Linked DNA regions of Homo sapiens: regions 2 and 3 are each linked to region 1. Evidence: promoter capture Hi-C in human tissues and cell types (Jung and others, 2019). All regions are on one chromosome and are shown on one strand. The core of a region is centred on a gene start or on the middle of the fragment in contact, and the rest is flanking DNA. Distances in the headings are between cores, read along the strand shown.

Region 1 (3,784 bases), core at 461-2,960:
GGCCAGCGAGGATGAGAAAAAAGGTGGAACTGATCAGCCTTCTTTAGAACATGGTGGATGGTTGGGCCTTCACCAACGTGTAAAACACAGTAAAGAGCTTAGCTTATGTTTATTTTGGGGGTGATGTTTCCTCCCACTCTCGTATTCCCTTGCAGCACTGCATTTACAGGAAAAAATTCCTGGAAGAGAACTGACTAAATTAAGTACATGTGTATTTGAATTTTCGTACATATAACCACACCGTTTCCCTTAAGAGTTCATTTGGTTTTGTATTTGGTTGGTTTGATACATGAAAAGTGATGTCTCACTGTCAATTTTATTTCTATATTTATATTTATTTGTTTTGTATGAAGTGTCTATTAATATCCTTCCTCAGTTATCTCTTGGTTGTTTTTCCTATTGATTTTTTTAAGCTCAGTATAATAATGAGATTAGGACTTTGCATTGCAAATATTTTTGCCAGTTAAATGTCTGCCAACTGGAAGTATTAATTCTTATTTAGTCAAGTTGGTCAATATTTTGTTTTATGGTTTCTGAGTTTTTTATAATGCTTAGAAAAGGCTTCCCTATTCCACAATTATTTGAATGTTATCCTCTTATTTTTTAATCTAATATTTTCATAGTTGTATCTTAAATATGTAATTCATATAGAACTGATTTTGATGTAAAAAGATAAGGCTCCACAGATGGCTATTTACGGCCTCAACACTTTTCACTGAGTAACTCATCATTTCCCCTACTACTTTACATTGATATTTCTTTAAACCATAAATTAAATTGCTGTACATACTCATGTCTACTTTTGGGTTACCTTTTCTCTTTCACTAAGCCTATCTATTCCAATGTTAATCTAAACTGTTTTAATTATTGTGATATTATATGTAATATCCCATTCATTATTCCCATTCATTACTCTTGTTTTAAATAGATATTCTTACATATTTATTTTCCATATAAACTTTAGAATCAGATTGGTTTGAAAAAAATCATGTTATTTTAAAAATTGGGATCAATTTTATTTCCAAATGTATATAATAATTTGGGGAATCTTGTTGTCTTTATCCTACTAAATTTTCTTAGTGAAAAAAGTATCTCTTTACTTATTCGTATCATTTTTTTTCCTTCATGCATAACATTGAGAACTTTCTGATTTTTGTTTGCAGGAAAGAAAACTATTGGTTTGCTAAACAAGAGCTTTATAGTTGATTAACTTTGATTTTCCATGTATACACGTATTTCATTTGCTAATGACAATTTAGCTTTCATTTTTCATAAATCTTTTTCTTTCTCTTGTTTAATTGCATAGGCCAGTAACTCCAAAACGTCAAAATCATAACGACAGTGTGCACTGTTGTGTTTTTTTTTTCTGAATTTACAGGAAAAAATAATAAACATTTTATCAGCTTTCAGCAGAGATGCCATACACTTTCTGTACTTCCCAATCCTGAGTTTTCTTCACTGTCACTCTTTGTCGAATACCTTCAACCCTGAAAATTCCTTCCCTTTGTTTAAAGATAAAAAGCAAAGTTGTTCATCCATTGCTTAGAAAGGAAAAATTGTAGTGGAGGCAAGGTTAAAAAGGAGCAGGCTGAACTCCATAGCAATCGCCAAAGCAAGGGGTTAGGAAAAGTTTCTTGGTCCCCTAGTCACTCTTTAGAAGGAAGAACCCGGGCTTGGGGAGGAGTCGGGGCCACCCCCGCCCCCTGCCCGCAGTCGTTGCCACCCGCGGAGATGAAATGTGAGCCTGGGTGGCCAAGGACGCCGGAGTGGCCGCCTTCCCCGCGCCTGAGCGCAGTGGGGCGAGACAAAGAGACCTGGGCCCCCAGCGCAGCCCGTCTCGGGCCACGGGCGCCCCAGCTCCGCGGAGTCCCGCAGTCGCTGGCCCGGGACGCGCCCGGCCCGGGCTCCCTTGGAAGGCTCCCTAGGCAATGGCCGGGTCTCTGCTCCACCCGGCTCTCAGGAGCGCTGCTCTCTCCATCTGATCGCCCTCCATCCTCCCCATTCCCTCCGGTTCCGGGCTCTCCCTTCGCTCCAAGCCTCAGGCCACCGGCTTGGATGGACGCTCCGAGGCTACCCGTGCGTCCAGGGGTCTTGCTTCCGAAGTTGGTCCTGCTCTTTGTCTACGCAGGTCAGTGACGGAGGGCGGCGGAGAGGGTCAGAGGCTCGGGGCTGCCCTTGGGTCACGGTCCGGGCTAACGTGGGTTGAGCTGGACGGACCGGGACCTTTGCAGAAGGACCTTTGCAGACGCTTCTGCCTTTTCCGCGAGGCGACGGCAGAAACCCGCGCACTTCCAGCCGCACGCGGTTTTGTTTTGTTCCTTTTCCTTTAACTTTTACCTTTTGCATTTCTTTTCTTTCCCTTTCCACCTTGGAAATAGCAGTCTCGTGTTTAGGGGATTTGACTCTCTGGATAGAGTAAACTATATCCAAATAAACTTATCTGGATAGGCTAGGCAGTGGCCTCTCCATCTTCTGCTTTCTAAATAGTCCTGGTTTTCCCTCTTGTGAATAAAAAAAACTTAGAGCTTTGTTTTCGTTCTTTGGGAGATTCACAAGTGTGGTAGACTGAGCTATTGGACTGAAGTCAAACACAAGGTTTTTGAGAAGCATGAATTCACCCAGGGTCTAATCTGTACAGGTTCGTTGATTTAGATAGACACTTGTTTATAAGAGAAGGGCATCTGGTTTCCCTTCTAATTATTCGTAGTAAGAACTGCTAATAATTAACGAAGCAAAGTGGGTTTTCTTGTTTGTGATTAATATGGAGCCCCAAATGGCCTTTCATTGGTTATTCAGGTATAAAGTGTCTTACACACGTGGTCTTTGCATCAGTTCATATTCACAAAACAATGCAAGCTAAAAGCAAAGTTCTTTGTAAAATGTTTTTGTGTCTCTAACGTCCTATGACAAAAATCGCAGGCTCACCCCTGAGCCTCCAATACGAAATGTATATATAGCACTGAAATTTACCTTTGATACTCAAAAAGATATTGCAACTGAAATGATGTTCTTCAGTGTTGCACCTGAGTATTAAAAGAATTGAATTTCTCATTCAACCTTGCTAGAAAAGAGTCACCATAACTTCTGTAGACATTTTTAGCCTGTTTATTGAAATGCAAATTAGTGGCTGTCTAGGAGTTACCATTTTAAAGATGTTTTATGGCAGGAAAAATGCTGACCTTCTAATATGAAAATTCATAAAAGTAGGATAAGTTCTTCGTATTTAATGAAGAGAATTACATTTAATCTGTTTACAACATTTATTTCTTTTATTAAATTTGTATAAGGTTTTCAGAATTTGAGGGATTAACAGAGTCAACTGCATTAATATTCATTTTCTATTGAAAAAATCTCTTTATTAGTTCTTTCGAAGTAATTATGCTTTTCACTTCCTCTGCTCGACAATATTTAATACTTTCACTCACACTTATTCAACCACTCCATTGAACCACAATTTTGTTTGTTTGTTTGTTTGTTTATTATATTCCCTGTGGTAAACTGAAAGCTTCTGCTTTACACATCTGCCCCCTCCTCCTGTTTCCCCAGTGCTAGGTGCCCAGCTCCTCAGGGCTCAGGAAATCAGCGAAGCTGGCCAGCAACAAGGGTGGTTAGTTTAGAAAGTTTTCAGTCCATTCATTTCTCTTCTTTGGAATCCCTCTATCATAAGCTACAAAGTAGTTGTAAGCCAGTGCTAAGTTGACTTACTATCTTTGCTAAGAAGTGTTTAGCTAATAAGCTCTTTGGTGTCAATTCCTGGACTTGTTATTCAGAGGCCTTTTTATGC
Region 2 (3,784 bases), core at 689-3,188, 59 kb before region 1:
CTTATATTAATATATGTCCATAAAAAAGCTTATGCCAGTCCCAAGCAGGGAATAACCTAAAATGTCCATCAAAACAGAATGGATAAATAAATGGTGTAATAGTTATCCAATAAAATTATACCCACTGATTTAAAAACATGAATGATGATACCTGCAACAATGTAAATGAGTGTCAAAAAATTTACTTTCAAAAACATATACAATCAAAGAATACATTTTTGTGAGAATGCCCATCTTTATACAATTTAAAAGAGGCAAAACCAACCTATGGTTATGGAAATCAGAACAATGGCTATCTATGGGGAATTATCTAAATGGAGGCCTAAGATAATTTCTAGGGTAATAATAATGTTTTATGTCATAATGTTTATATCCATTTATCAAAATCCATTGAATTTAATCCCTAATATCTACGCATTTCACAATATGTAATTTTTATTTCAATTTTACAAAAACAGCGTGACATCTGGAAGATGGTGGAATAGAACTTTTCTGCACTTGTCTTCTCTCAGGAAACTTAATTGGAACTATCCAAGCACAAAAATATACAAGAGCTAAGGAGTCCAGGTAAGAGATTATAATATCTCAGCGTAGCATAGAAATAAGGAAAGACACATTGAAGAGAGCAAGAAAGACAGTCTTATATTACTGGCATCATCCCTCCCCCAAGCCTGCATAGCACAGCAAAGAGAGAGACACCTTCTGCCTGAGAAAAAGAATAAGTACTTGACTTTGCTATAGACCTTAGCACCAGGCCTGCCCCAGTAAAATCCAGTATCAGGCTATTCCTCATGGCTCAGGCTTCAGGCTAGCTTCTATGACCCAAGTCATCAGGCCCATCCCGGTGCCAGGATGATTCCCATCACCACCGGCTACAGGCCTATCCCACCACCAGGCCTTGGCATTAGGTTAGCGCCCATGACTCAGTGCTCCAGCAGACCAAGAGTCCAGGCCTGCCTTAGCAGGCCCCAGTGCCAGGCTGGAACCCATGGACCAAGGCTCTAGGACCACTCTGGTGGATGCAGGCTCCAGGACTGCCTCAGCACCAGACTGGTGCCTGCAGTCCCAGGTTTCACTGGACCCAGGGTCCAGGCTGCCCCAGAAAATCTAGGGATCCAGCTCACCTGGGTAAACTCCAGTCCTAGGCTGGCCTCTATGGGCAGACTCAAGGCATATCCCTGAATAGCCAGTTGACAAGCCTACCTTAGTGGGCCCTGACACCCAGATGGCCCATGTGAACTCAGGCTGCAGGCCTGCCCCCAGCAAACCCAAAGTCCAGACCATCCCATGTGGAGCCAATTCCAGGCCTACTCACTTGTTGACCTAGGTATCAGGTTACTCTGCCCAAGGACTCCAGCAGCAAGCCTGCACATGGAATCTAAGTCAGGCTGCCTAGAATTTCTAGACAGGCTAATTTACGAAGAGCTCTTCCTGCCAAAGCCATTCTGTAAAGACCGGAAAGATGCTTACTTCCTAAAATGTATAGATATCAGTACAAGGCCACAAAAATCATGAATAATTAGAGAAACATGACACCACCAAAGGAGCAAAATAAGACACCAGTAACCAACCCTAAAGAAATGAAGATCTATGAACCACTTGACAAAGAATTCAAAATAACCATCTTAAGCTCATTGAGGCTGGGCACAGTGGCTCACACCTGTTATCCCAGCACTTTAGGAGGCCAAGGCAGATTGATCACTTGAGGTCAGGAGTTTGAGACCAGCCTGGCCGAATAGAGAAACCTCATCCCTACTAAAAATAGAAAAATCAGCCAGGCATGGTAATGGGCACCTGTAATCCCAGCTAATTGGCAGGCTGAGGCAGCAGAATCACTTGAACCCAGGAGGCAGAGGTTGCAGTGAGCCGAGATCATGCCATTGCACTTCATCCTGGACAATAGAGTGAGACTCTGTCTCAAAAAAAAAAAAAAAAAAAAAAAAAAAAAAAAAAAGGAGCTCATTGAGCTATAAGAAATAACTAAATTATATTAGATATTAAGACAACTAAATTTATTAGAAAAACAATAAATGAACAAAGTGAGAAGTTCAAAGAAGAGATAGAAACCATAAAAAAAGAACCAAACAGAAATTCTGGAGCTAAAGAACACAATGAGTCTACTGAAAAATTTCATAGAGAGCTGTTCAACAGCAGACCCAATCAAGCATAAGAAAGAATCTGTGAGCTTGAAGCCAGATCACTTTAATTATTCAGTCAGAGGAACAAAAGGAAAAAGAATTTTAACAAGTTAAGGAAGATTATAGGATTTATGGGACATCATAAAGTAAACCAATATACACATTTCAGGGTACCAGAAGGAGGAGAAAAAGAGAAAGGGACAGATTGCTTACTTTAAGTAAAAAAATGACAGAAGACTTCTCAAATCTAGAATGGGAAATGAACCCCTAGATCCATGAAGCCCAAAGATACTCAAATATATTAAATACCAGATCTTCACCAAGATCCATTATTACCAAATTCTCAAAAGTCAGTGACAAACAGAATTTTGTAAGCAACAAGAAAAAATCAGTTCTTCACATTCAAAGAACCCCCATAAGACTGTTAGTGTATTTCTCAGCAGAAATTTTGTAGGCCAGGAGAAAATTGGATAATGTATTCAAAATAGTAAAAGAAAACAACTTCTAATCAAAAATGTTATACCCAACAAGGCTGTCCTTCAAAAATAATTGTTAAAATAAGATAAATTTTTTCAAACAAACAAAAGCTGAGGGAGTTCATCACACTAGATTTACCTTACAAGAAATGTAAACTAAAGTTTTTCAGGTTGAAACAAACATATGCTAACAACATGAGGACATACAAAAATGTAAAACTCACTGTAAAGTTTTGATACTCTACTGTCAAGTTTAGATACTCTACTAAACTGTAATACAACCAGAATACTGTCATCATGGTTTATAAATCACTTTTAACTCATATAAGTTAAAATACAAAGTATAAAAGTAACTATAGCTATAAAAATTTGTTAATTTGATACAAAATATATTAAAAAATATAAATTGTTACATCAGTAACATAAAATGTAAGGAAGTGAAAAGTTAAAAAACGGAGTTTTTGTATTCAATAGAAGTTATCAGCTTAAAATAGACTGCTATAACAATTAGATGTTTATGTAAGCCCCATGGCAACCACAAGGAAAAAAACCTGTAAATGATACACAAAATATAAGAAAAAAAAAAATGAAATCATGCCACTACAAAAATTATCAAATCATGAAGAAAGACAGCAAGAGGGAGAATGGAATAGAGGAACTACAAAAGAGTTACAAAACGTTTTTAAAACGGCAGTGGTAAATCCTTACCTATCAACAATTACCTTAAATGTAAGTGGATTAAATTCTCCAATAAAAAAATACAGCTCAGGAAAAGCAGGGAAAAAAAGAAAATAATGTTACAAACAATAAGACAAAAAAAGTTTTAAAATAAAAAAATATGTATATATTTAAAATAAAAAAATATATATATATACACACACACACACACATACACACACATTGGCTGAGTTGATTTTTTAAAAACAGAAATTCAACTAAATACTGCCTACAAGAAACTGATTTTAGTTGATGCTATGGTTTAAGTGTTTGTGTGTTCTTCAAAATTCATTTTGAAACTTGATCCCCAGTGCAACAGTATGAAGAGGTGAGGCTTTAGGAGTGATTTGACTATGAGGGCAAAGCTCTCCTAGAAGGGACTAGTGCCTTATGAAAGGGCTTGAGGGAGTGAGATTGCCCCTTCCATCCCTTTTTCCCTTCCACGTTTCACCA
Region 3 (3,784 bases), core at 437-2,936, 44 kb after region 1:
AGCAAAATAACACAAGAACAGAAAACCAAACACTGCCTGTTCTCACTCATAAGTGGGAGTTGAACAATGAGAACACATGGGCACAGGGAGGGGAACATCACACACCGGGGCCTGTCGAGGGGTTGGGGGATAGGGGAGGGATAACATTAAGAGAAATACCTCATTTAGATGACAGGTTGATGGGTGCAGCAAACCACCATGGCACGTGTATACATATGTAACAAACCTGCACGTTCTGCACATGTATCCCAGAACTTAAAGTATAATTAAAAAAAATAAAATTAATATTATAAAATGCCCAATAAACTCACATTTTAAGGCTAAATTTAAAACAAAATCCTAACAATTAAAAGAAAAACTATAACTGGAGGCAACATTTGCAGAAAATGCTGCAGACAAAAATGATTTTTATAGTTATTTATATTATACTTACAACTTTCTCTTTAAGTTTAGGATTACTTCAAAATTAAAAAGTATATATTTATGAATAAAAAATAATTTTATTATGGGCAAAACAATCATTCAGGCTGCTGGAGCAGATTGAATTCTGTAAGTAGTTTCTCAACTCAGTTGGCTTTCAGAACATACAAATACAAGCAAAATTGTCTGGCAAAACTAAGCTTCACAGTAATATCCAAAGTCATACAGCTTAGGTTTGCCCTAGTCTCTGATAGAAGAATGGTTTATTTATTTACTATAGTTGTAGAGTTGTTTACCAACACTTATGTATGTCAACATATGTCAGTATTTCCGTTGATATATATTAATGTTTCAACACATTTCATCATTGTCACTAGAAAAGATGGGATGGGTAGCCATAACATAAAGTTTTCAAGAAAGGAGCCTTTGAGGATAAACTATTCAATGTTACCAAAGGTCTAAGGGCTAACTCTGTAACCTCTGTGAATACACAGCTCTGCCCCTCCATCATTCCAGCAAACAGCTAAGTGCTTAATAAGATAAAATCCAATAGCATTGAACCACAGTGACCTGTGTCAAAAATAGCACTATGTACAGCTGATAATTTTTAATTAAATGAAATAGAGACTGATGATATCATTCTTGGCTGTTGCAAACCGCACTCCCCTATGTTTTCAGGATCTGCATTTATATGCACTATGCTACTGGTTCAGCTAGCCTGCAAGTCTGCAAGAGGGCACCTATTCCCAAACCATGCTAATGAGTGCTGCTGGATCCAGCAAAAGCACACTTGGTACAGATTTAATCCATTTTAGGCAAAGCTAAGAGTTATCATTTGTAGTTGAAATTTATATAAAATTGTGGTTACCTGTTTTCTTCATGAATTACTTTATAAATGCATTGCATGGCATTTGTTGAATGAGTGAGTGCTTCCAATGTATATTAATATGTGACTCTGTTTATAAAAGGTAATTTATAGCCAGTTTATCAGAAATGCAATTATTTCATAAAACTCTGTATATCATTCTAAAAAAGATGCAAAAGAAACATATGTAAGATTATCTAATGTGATAAACATAGAATGGACTTTGAGCTAGACATGCTTCTATTCAAATTGCCACCTCTAAATGCCACTTACTGAGTGACCTTAGGCAAGTTACTAACCTCCTCTGACCCTCACTTTCATTATATGTTAGGAAACAGTGGTAATACACATCTACTGAATGGTTGTGACTAATAAGTACTATATATAAAGTATCAGTGTAAGAGTCATCACAAGGAAAAACTGAGTAATTATTTTAATCTCACCTGTGGCCCTTTGTTTGCTTCTAATAATGGACTGTGTTTGCATGAAACATACTAAACCAACAAAATTTTGTAGTGTTAGCCCACCTGTTCCAGAGAAATCTCTGTTGAAAAGGCTTATAAGAGATCTTTTTGAATGTTCCTCCATCTCTTACATGTTTTCTTCTCTGATGGCCACATATAATCAGTACTTAAGCTCCCGTAACTGTAGGTCAAATTGATTTCTGATCAAGAAGTTGCTCCTCTTTAAATATATAAATAATTGTACCATCCAATAGATTGAACTGAGTCTTAGACTTTCCCTTTTCCCCTCATTTTAAGTGCTTTACAAAGTTGCTGTGTTAGTTCATTCCTTCATTTCTGTAAAGACTTGAGGAAGGGTAATTTATGAAGGAAAGAAATTTATTTTGGCTCATGGTTCTACAGGCTGTACAGGAAGCATAGCACTGGCACCCGGTTCTGACGAGGGCCTCAGGAAGCTTCCACTCATGGCAAAAGGCAATTGAGGAGCAGGCACATCATATGGTGAGAGAAGGGGCAAAAGAGGGAGAGCAGGAAGGAGCCAGTCTCCTTTAAACAACCAGCTCTTGCTTGAACTACCAGAGCAAGAACTCCCTCCTTACCATGAGAGTGGCACCAAGCCATTCCTGAGGGACCTGCTCCATGACCTAAACACCTCTCACTAGGCCCACCTCCAACACTAAGGATCACATTTCAACACGAGATTTGGAGGGGACACATATCCAAATCATATCAGTTGCATTAACAAATTTCTGGAAAATAGTATTTAATAGGAATTTCTAAAAGAAATCAAAGCTTTAAAAGGTAAACCTTTTGAACTAAAAAAAGATATTTAGCTATTAACAAAAATGATGTTATTTTTTGGAATACAATGAATATTTTTATTTCTATTCTGTCAAAATTGTTTTTCTGTAGTGATATTTGCTTCTTTTTGATTGACTGTGGACTAAGATTTCTACCAGGATGTCTCTGGATTTTTACTCGTTTTAAGTGTTGCTGAATTTTTTTCCTTTACTCTTTATTTATAGAATTTCTGTAGTTTATTTTTGAAATTTCTATATGACACTTTTATGAAACAGTTCATTCCTTTGTCATTTTTAAAAAGGTAATGATGGCTTAGCCTTCATTATCCCTGACTTCGCAGAATATTATATTTCTAGAAAATCAACAGGTGCACACACCCTCAAATCACTGGACTATTATTTGAACAAAATATTCTCCCGGGACCTATAAAAGATTCTGATACCTCAAACCTGAATTTAGCTTTGAATTTGGCAGCAGTACTCTTTATACAATAGCAGTGTTCTGGAGGAGCTGAGCTTTCTTTATATATGATTCATCTGGCCATATTCAGGCAAAATAAAAGAAATGTACAAAAGTAGCAATGAAATGGAGTATATTCATGCCAACATAAGCCATTTTTACTGGATGATAAAAACACATATTTTCAATAATAATTGTCCATATAATGAAAAATTTCTAAATTCAGGAAAAATATAAAAAGCTGCCTATTCTGCATTTTTTTTGTTGGCTTTCTAACCTTTGAGGTTTGTACAGCACTCAATAAGTAAAATTAAAAGTGATTTGACTTTATTTGGTTATGTAAATTGGGTTATATTTTACAGAATTAAAAGGTATCAATTTTACCCAACTTCATGCCTTTAAAAAAGAGGCCATAATACTTGAGAAATTATGCCTGGTTAATTCCAAATTCCAAACCCTAGTTTATTGATGAGACTACTTATTTTGGTAATATGTTGGCCTGGGGAGAAAGCAAGAGGGAAACTGGCAGTGTTTCTGGCCTTTACTGTAGCTCTAATTTGTTCCAAATGTCCAAATGCCTTTATATGTGTTTCTCGTGCAGAATAGAGTTACGTGGGATAGCCCAGCATCCCCTGACTTCTGATCACTCATGTTGTGAACACACTTGCATATTGGGAAGAAAAAAAGGCCCAGATCCTTTTCACCTTTGGGGTCAACTTTATTTTCTAATTCATTATAAGTGCTTAACATAGCTTGTGCCTGCTCTGAGTCAGGT

What was found. The method cuts DNA at HindIII sites, captures the fragments that hold promoters and counts their contacts. A contact is called where the count stands out against the background at its distance.
Region 2: a contact is called between a fragment that was not itself captured here and the fragment with the promoter of CYYR1 in region 1, in 1 of the 25 tissues and cell types used here (dorsolateral prefrontal cortex).
Region 3: a contact is called between a fragment that was not itself captured here and the fragment with the promoter of CYYR1 in region 1, in 3 of the 25 tissues and cell types used here (H1 embryonic stem cells, heart left ventricle and mesenchymal stem cells).

What each region holds. Positions count from the first base shown.
Region 1 is chr21:26,571,212-26,574,995 of GRCh38, reverse strand. CYYR1 (cysteine and tyrosine rich 1) reads left to right here and starts at 1,710. Exons shown (of 4, transcript NM_001320768.2): 1 at 1,710-2,128. The coding sequence starts at 2,056. The HindIII fragment of the contact is 7,865 bases long and covers 1-3,745 here.
Region 2 is chr21:26,630,409-26,634,192 of GRCh38, reverse strand. No RefSeq gene overlaps it. Among named protein-coding and RNA genes, the nearest start is that of CYYR1, 59 kb to the right of the region's middle. The HindIII fragment of the contact is 4,999 bases long and covers 1-3,784 here.
Region 3 is chr21:26,526,959-26,530,742 of GRCh38, reverse strand. All of the region lies in intron 2 of CYYR1 (cysteine and tyrosine rich 1), which reads left to right. All of the region lies in intron 2 of CYYR1-AS1 (CYYR1 antisense RNA 1), which reads right to left. Among named protein-coding and RNA genes, the nearest start is that of CYYR1, 44 kb to the left of the region's middle. The HindIII fragment of the contact is 3,105 bases long and covers 134-3,238 here.